Linked DNA regions of Homo sapiens: region 1 is linked to region 2. The links are contacts of gene promoters, found by promoter capture Hi-C in human tissues and cell types (Jung and others, 2019). All regions are on one chromosome and are shown on one strand. Each heading gives the region's core, a stretch centred on a gene start or on the middle of the fragment in contact. The rest is flanking DNA. Distances are from core to core; before and after follow the strand shown. Region 1 overlaps ZCCHC2 (zinc finger CCHC-type containing 2). Region 2 holds the start of RNF152 (ring finger protein 152).

What was found. The method cuts DNA at HindIII sites, captures the fragments that hold promoters and counts their contacts. A contact is called where the count stands out against the background at its distance.
Region 1: a fragment that was not itself captured here is called in contact with the fragment with the promoter of RNF152 in region 2 in 1 of the 25 tissues and cell types used here (liver).

What each region holds. Positions count from the first base shown.
Region 1 is chr18:62,535,935-62,540,462 of GRCh38, reverse strand. ZCCHC2 (zinc finger CCHC-type containing 2) reads right to left here. Exons shown (of 14, transcript NM_017742.6): 2 at 671-782. Among named protein-coding and RNA genes, the nearest start is that of ZCCHC2, 15 kb to the right of the region's middle. The HindIII fragment of the contact is 3,955 bases long and covers 1,116-4,528 here.
Region 2 is chr18:61,891,690-61,895,620 of GRCh38, reverse strand. It overlaps RNF152 (ring finger protein 152), which reads left to right and starts at 2,614. Exons shown (of 2, transcript NM_173557.3): 1 at 2,614-2,826. LOC105372159 (a long non-coding RNA gene) reads right to left here and starts at 1,068. Exons shown (of 3, transcript XR_935562.3): 1 at 901-1,068. RefSeq lists silencers at 1,059-1,208, 1,279-1,428. The HindIII fragment of the contact is 14,100 bases long and covers 1-3,931 here.

The sequences.
Region 1 (4,528 bases), core at 1,844-4,343, 640 kb before region 2:
ATTATTACTGGTAAAAAAAAAAAAAAAGGAGACATAATGACATAAATTCAAAATTGTTATAACTGAGTGTGAAGCTTATCATATATCCTTGGCTCTTTTAAAGCCCAGATGGCAGTCTACATTTTCCATTTCAGTTTCTCTCCCAGCACAGGTTAATGGCTCCCCAAATGCAAAGAGGAAAGAATAATTTGAATTCATTCCTGTTCAGATGGCAATGTCCTTCCACCCATTCATTCCAGCCCTCTTAAAAACTGCATTATTGCAGGAAGAATGGATTTGTAAGTAACTTATTTACTCTTCCAGAGAACTTGTATAAAATTCATTTTCTCAGTAGACACTGAGCTCAATTCTGCAAATAAAGCACTATACTAAATACTCTGGGGGTCTCTGCCCCCCAGAAGCATGCAACCAGGTTTAAGATTCAGCCAAGACAATGGACTACAGAGCAGAATGACTGTGTGCGTGCTAGGACAAGCAGGGCTGTGGCGCAGGAAACACCCAGCGTGCAGATGGCAGAACTAGGAGGACTGGCTCTTGAGTGAAGCCTAGGACCAGTAGGACTTCTCCACTTCAAAAAGGAGAGTAAAAAGTTTAGAGTTAATCAGCGTAAAGAGCACCCTGTAATCTTTTGATGTATTAATGCTTTAAGTTTACAAAAAAGAGAGCATACCTTCTCGCTGAGCTCTGTGAGGTGCCACGGTAAGTCCGTCCTGAGGTATTGGAGCTTGCTCTATTAAGCTGCTCTCGTTATTTTGCATGTAATCACCATGAGCAGAGTTGTTCTAGATGAGAAAGAGGGAGATACGTTAACTTAAACCATGGACTAAGAGTAATAATCACAGATTTAGGTCTTCTCATTTTACTAACAACCATTTTAGTGGCAATTTTTAGAGGTCCAATAGGTGACTGCACACTATGGGCACAAAGGCACAGTGTGAGAGCCGCAAGCAGAAGATGAGCACTCTATTAATTATTGACTGTCCTAGCTTTCTTGGGACACAGGAAATTGCTTAATAATATACAGAGTTGCCAATGATGTCAATTCTGAATCCAAATCAAAGGAACACATAACAAATGGTGCCCTTTACACTAATCCTCCATAGGGAACGGCATGTGTACTTTTTACAAGAATCACTACACCATTTTTATTCATTGTTTGGTTTTAATAACAGTCTAAAAAGATGCTTTATTAGGAAAAAGTCTTATGAAAGGTATCATCAATACATGCCAAGGATTTCTAAACAAGAATATGTACAGGCAGGGAGTTTACCATTAAGGTTCAGTCATCTAACAGCAACTGGGTGCTCTAAACCTAACTGAGTTTGCTCAGCCAATCACTAGTGAACCGGGGTAACTTTGACTCCTAGATCCGATGCTTGGAGTAATAAAGGTGATGCCAAACTTACAAACAGCTCGCCAGAAATCAAGCACTGTCACATACAAACTGTTACAACATCATATTAAGTAAGTAAATAAATAGCCTTATGACAGTTTTTTATTACAGCTTGCACCTTATCCCCTCCCTTTATGTGCAGAATCTCAAAACACTACTCATATCAAAATCAACTTGGTTTTAAGAATCAATTATGATTTTACAAATCTGCAGTAAACATACATTAATATTTTTTTCTGTAAAAAATTAGGCAAATAGAAGACCCTAAGCTCCCCACAAATCTCAATTTAAAAATATTTTGTTCTGCTGTCTAATCACACATCCCGACCCGACAGTAAGTATGAATTGCTCTGTTTATGAGAACAGAGCACATTATATACTTTTGGGAGCTAAACTTCTGCCTTCTAGTCTGTCTTCCTTTATTTAGAAACCCAAGGAAACAAAGACTGTCTACCTAAAACCATTTAATAAGGAGAGTACAGACCTCTTCAGTCAACATCCAACTTCTGAAACACTTGGCCTGATAGCCTTTACCAATTTTCAATGCGACTGGTTTTTTAAAAATGCAGATATGAATTATTTTAATAACAAAACCATACATATCCTAACCCAGACCATATATTTTATTAAAAAATGTAAAACCACATTTACCCACGAGAGATTCTGCTTCTCAAAAATTTTAATATTGCTGTAAATACTTTAAAAAACAAAGAAAATAAAGTGCTATATAATCCTCTCAAATAGTTGTGTTAACTGGAAGAAGCTTGGGTGAATAGGTTAACCAATTCTTTCTTTTTTTTTTTTTTTTTGAGACAGGGTCTCTCTCTGTTGCCCAGACTGAAGTACACCGGCATGATCATAGCTCACTGCAGCCTCAAATTCCCGGCTTCAAGTGATCCTCTCAACTCGGCATCCCAAAGTGCTGGAATTACAGGTGTGAGTCATTGTACCTGGCCAGTCAACCATTGCTTAAAGCGAAATATTTCTCTACATTGCTCATATATAGTTCACAAATTTAAAGCAATACTTTCAAATGTAAACTAATGCAAAATATGAAAAAAATGTTTTCATTAGTGAGATGCATAAGAAGATACCACTTTATACCCATTAGGATGACTATTATTAAAAAAGACAGTGTTGGCAAGGACATGAAGAAAATGGAACCCTTACACATTGATGGTGGAAACAAAAATAGTATAGCTACTGTTGAAGACAGTCAGGCAGTTCCTCAAAATATTAAACACAGAATTATTTTATGACCCAGCAATTCCACTTCTAAGATACACCCAAAAGAACTGAAAGCAGAAATGCAAACATAATCTGTACATCAGTGTTCATAGCAGTTATTCACAATAGCCACAAGGTGTAAACTCAAAACCCATCAATGGATGAACAGATAAACAAAATATGGTGTACACATCCAATTACCTATGATTCAGCCTTAAAAAGGAATGCAATTCTGATACATAATAGGATTTAGATGAATCCCAAAGAGAGTATGCTAGGTGAAATAAGCCAGACACAAAAGAACAAATACAGCATGATTCCACTTATATGAGATACCTAGAATAGTCAAGTTGATAAAGAAAGTAGAATAGTGGCTAGGTGTGGTAGCTCACGCCTGCAATCCCAGCACTTTGGGAGGCCAAGGTGGGAGGATCACATAAGGCAAGTATTTCAAGACAGACTGGGCGACACTGCACGATCCTATCGCTACAAAAGAATTTTTTTTTTTTGTTAGCCAGAAGTGGTGGTATGTGCCTGTAGTCCTCGTTAGATGGGAGGACTGCTTGGGCCCAGGAGTTCAAGGCTGCAGTGACCCATGACTGCGCCACTGCACTTCAGCCTGGGCAACAGGGCAAGACCCTGTCTCTAAAGCAAACAAAAAAAGTAGAATAGTAGTTACCAGGTACTGGAGGGAATAGGGTGTTATTTTTTAAATGGGTATAGCATTTCTGTTTGGGATGATAGAATGTTTGGAGACAGAGGTGATGACTCATGACAACGGGAACGTACTTAATGCTACTGAACCGTACACTAAAAAGGAGAAAATGAGAATTTTATGCTATATATTTTATATCACAATAAAAACTAAAAATGGAAATGATCACACTGCCTCCACAAACATTAAATTGAAGCAACTGTATGAAAGTAGTTTGCTTCACAATCAAAATCACATTTTTGAAGTCTGAAGTTAACTTTATGAACCCAATTTAACCAAGTAACCTCCTGTTTAATAACCTAGGGAGAAAAATGAAGTTTGAGTTTCTATCCAAAGTCCTAAGTTCATCAACCCATGATATATCTACTAATTAAATGTTTATTTTCTCCTCCAAGTCTCAGCATGTATCAATGCTATAAAATCACGTAGACTATGTTTAGAAGCTATTACTAAACTCACTCATGTAACGCTGCATGAGCTGGAGATGAGAATCGGCAGCCCCAATGGTGGGTGGCTGCTCGGCGATGCTGTCTGCCCTGCACTCCCTCTTTACTTTCCTTAGGGGGATGGGTAGCATAAAATCTGAGAACTCCTTCTTTAATGGAATCATATAAAGAGGAATGGCACCCACTTTATCTGTTAAGTTCAGATTCCCATGAAAATGCAGAACAGATGAAATGCCAGAATCAGTATTTTACAAAGACTAGTTGGAGAAAAGTGTCAGGACCACGAGAAAAGTGGATTTTTCTCTGTTTGTATCAAGAAAGCAGGGTTTAAAGATTCTAAACCTGCAAAAATACGCACAAGCATACAAAGAACTTTAGTAGGAGTGCATTCTCCTTTCTTAACTCGCCTGAGGCAGAGCTTCTTCTGTCCTATCGCTTGCCTCAAGAGCTACTGGTTAGCACAAACCTACACGGCATGTGGTTCAGGTGGTCTAGATGGTTTTGCCACAGATCACACGTAGACCCATCACAATTACATACTTGAGATTTCTTAACTGTGGGGACCTTGTGAAACAGCCAAGTAGCTGGACATCCTAAAAAACTCTTCTCTGAAAACATACCATTAGAACAAAGGTCATAGATGGAGTTTTAGTTCGTCTAACAATATTCTACATGGTTCTTGTAGTCCCTCGATATAGACTATAAATTTAAAAATCCAAGATATTCCAAATATAATAACACAGCAGT
Region 2 (3,931 bases), core at 1,365-3,864:
GGCTGAGGCAGGAGAATCGCTTGAACCCGGAAGTTGGAGGTTTCAGTGAGCTGAGATCGCGCCACTGCACTCCAGCCTGGGTGACAGAGCGAGAGTCCATCTTCAAAAAAAAAAAAACAGAAAAAGTAAAAAAAGAAATCTTGGCAGAAGCATTTCAATAAGCTACTTGGGGGAGTGAAAATGGGGACTCTTTCCTTGCGGATACTACGGACCTTAAGACAAAGACGGCTCCACTCCAGCAGTGGGGAAAGGCAGCAAGTGCCGCTGGAATCCGTGGGGATCACACTCAACTGAGCCCTGCTGCTGGGGACCGGGTAACGTCCGCAGGCTGAACTTCATCTCAAGAAGAGAGTTTTAGGTTTTCATGCTGCAGAGAAATCCTTTAAAAAGGCACCAAAGGGCATGGAACTATCTTCTACCAAGGACCTTTCTCCTCCATTCTCCTATTTCGCAGTTAACTCAAGAGGCGGGAGATTTTCTCCGGGGAACAAGACATTCTAAGCACCTCCCTAGGTCGAAGTTAGGTTTTAAGGTGTGGAATAGGGTGGGCCCCGAGGTTCCGTGGGGTTCGCGCTTCCATATAACCCCTAGGACTTGCATCTCTTTACTCCCCTGCTTCTTGTCCCCCATTCGAGGGATTCAAGTAGTGGGGTGTCCATTCGGGCCTCTTTGGAAAGCGGGGCCCCACCCTGGCTGGACTACGTGAACTTTTAGGGGCAGCCAAAAAGTATCCGGTGACGAGGATGCAGGGCAGCTTCTGGAAACCTGATGATCTCAGCTCCTCCCTCTCGCTGTCCGGGTCCTAGGCACAGACTGGGCACCCCCCAACCCACCCACCGCGGCCCCGGCCCCCTTCCCGGCCCTGCCCCTCCTCCCGGCTGCCCAGGCCTCCTTTCACACCTGCCGCCAGCTCAGGTCCCGCTTTTGCACGGTAGAGAGACGGCGTCGAGGTCCTGGCCGAGGGTAGGCACTGGGGGCAAAGCCGAGGGAGCGCGCGAGAGAGGGTAGGCAGCCCCTCACCCCGGGGGAGGTGGGCGATTCGGGACTGACGGAGAGAAGTCCCGGGCCCGCCGGGCTGTGGGCGGGGAGGAGGGGGTGGAGCCGCCGGGGAGGGCGGTGCCGCGGGGAGCGGAGCCCAGCCTCTCCCCCCACCCCCTTTGGTGCCGGAGTCTCAGTGACACAAAAAGCTCTCGCTCGGTGCCGAGCGCCTGGCGGCGGTGTCCGACCGCGAACGCGGAGGGCGGCCGGGCAGGTGGGGGTGCCGCCCGAAGGGCCGGGCCGGGTGCTGGGGCTGCAGGCGCCGCCGCCGCGCTGTCAGCGTCCGCCCCGTGGCTCTCGGCCGGAGGAGCGGCGGCCGCCGGCCCGGGGCGCGAGTCTGGCTGAAAGGAGCGGGCGCGCCGGGACCACCCGGCGATGCTGTCGCCGCCGCCGCCGCCTCTGTAGCGAGCACCCGAGCCCGCCGCGGAGAAAGGTCAGTGAGTTTCGGTTTGTTTCTCTGCTCTGCCGGCTCCGGATCGGGGGCGGACAGAGGGGTGCGCAGGGATGTCTGCGCCCCTACGGCGGCCGCGCCGAAGCCGTGGAAGCGGGAAAGGGCAGCTGCCGCCTGCTGTAACTGGGGAGATCTTCTGGACCGCGGAGGGGGTGGCGGGGCCGCAGGGTCCCGGGGAGGGGAGCGCGGGGTCTGGCGGGGCACGGGGGAGGTGGTCCCGGGAGTTGCGTGTCTCCTGAGAGCTGGCGGAGTTGGGCGGGCGGCCGCGGCGGGGAGCGGCGCTGTCGGCTGCTCGGCCGAGTCCTCGGATGCCCCCTGGAGCTCCGGTCCGAGGGAGCTTTCCTCGTGCCCGCGCCGCGCGCGCCCCTGGGTGTGCACGTGCGCGCGCGCCCGCCCCAGTTGCGCCCCCGGCCCGCACACACCCCGGCTCATCTTCTCCCGGTCCCCTTGTCTCGCGCCTTCTCCAGCCCTAGAAGTTGCCCCAGGGCCCCTCCCGGGATTAGAGAGCGCTGTGAAGGGCCAGATGTTGGGGGTCTTTTGTGCAGACACACGCGCCTGGGGCGCTTGCTCCTGGAAGGACAGCGGCAGGACAAAGCCAGCTGGACTCGTGGGGCGCTGCTCGGGAAGCGGCGGTCCCCAATCCCGCCTGGGGTCGGGGCATGGCTTGGGGAGCGCTGCCTGGGTCTGGAGAGAGTAGAGAAATCGCCAAAGCAGAGTGACGGTGACTTGATGAGGTGACGGTGACTTGATGAGGTGGCGGTGACTTGATGAGGTGGCGGACAGGGGCAAACGAAAGAAAGATGCTCGGGATTGCCGCGCTGTGTGCCTGTCTGCGCGGCTGACTAGGCGCCCCGCATTCCCATATGACCGGGTTACCTGGTAGATTTTGCCAGTGTGTCTTTGCCCCAAGATGTTATTCCCCACCTGCTCCGATTTCTTTCTTTCCTAGGGCTTACTGTTGCTAGTAGGCGCTCTGCCACCAGAGGGGAACTCGTGGGCGGGGGAGACTGCGGAGGAGGGGGGAGGTGGTTATTTATCCTGTAGAGACAATTAGGAGCCGTGACGCCCCCTTCTCGGCCGCCAGCCCTCCACACCTCATCTGCCTTGCTCCACCTCCCTAGTGCACCCGCTCCAGCCCCGTCTGCCCAGGAGGGCGCTTGGATTTCCTTCTCCGCGGCGCGTATCTAACCCTTCCTGCATGTATTTCACTGCAGGCTGAAGAAAGCTCAGTCTCAATTGTGTTTCCTGCCTGTCAGCCTCTTGCCTCCTAAACGTGTACCATTTCCACTTGATGTCATCACGCAGAAGGGGTGAAAGAGACTCGGTGACAGATACAGGTAACCCCCCACGATCTGGGTAGCGCCTGGGTGTCTCTGGGTCATTTGGGCCGACAGTGCTGGCACAGGGCTGTTTGGGTGGTTTCTGCATCAACATCGTTCCTATCTGTGAGAAGGTGTGGGGGCTGCTAAAACTCCTGGTTCAAAGAAATAAATTGCAAATGACTTTATACCTTCCCTTTGAAGAAGCCATTGGAGGTAGGTGCAGGGTGAATTTGGGATTGTAGAAATCCCACCTGGTTTCCTTTCATGGGAATTTTGATATAATTCATACACAGGCAGTTGTATCTGAATGTTAGGTTTCCATAGATGCCTGCTTTCTTATCTGTAGTAATAGATTTAGGCTTCAGTCTAGAGGTGGGGTATCCTTTGTTGAAAAGGTATCATTGGAAGGCTGATTGTACTTTTGCCCAGTGCTCTAATTGAGCACCGGTCAAATGCAGTGACCTTCGTATGAAATACTGTCTTTCTTCTGTTCCTTCATTGTAATAGTGTTTGCAATATTAAGAGAGACATGCTAGCAGTGAGTACTGGGAGGTGGAAGGGAGGGCTGTTGGGGGCAGCAGAAAGAGAACAGAGAAAACAGCTTGAGTGAAGTTTCCATTTAGATAGCCATGAACCAGTAGACTCTCATTCTGGATTTTATCTTTAGGTTATTGGGGCTTTTCCAAAAACTCTGGCCTGTTCTTTTCTTTCCAAGGATAGTTCTGTTTTGATGTCAGCCTAGCCAGATCTGGGGTTATCTTGATAAGAGTGCAATGAAAAAACGTAACCTTCAGACTTAGCAGGACACTCCGGCATTAGCATTTTCTGCTAGAGGGCAGAGTCCTGCGCATCCTACACTAGTAGCAGGGAATAAGAATGGTTATGGAAATGGGCTTTCGATTTTTCTTGTAGGAAGACAGATTGCTGAGGGCCAAAGGCTCCTGGTCTACTCTCTTTTACATTGCAGTAACACCTTGGTATCTGTGACAGATTCTCTCTTCACCATTTTCCTCCAAATCCCTTGAAAAATGAAGTTAAAAACTTGAAAGATTTATTATTCACCTCCAATGTAGTTTTGTTTTGGAAGGTGACTTTAAAAACATAGGTGACACTAGCATTT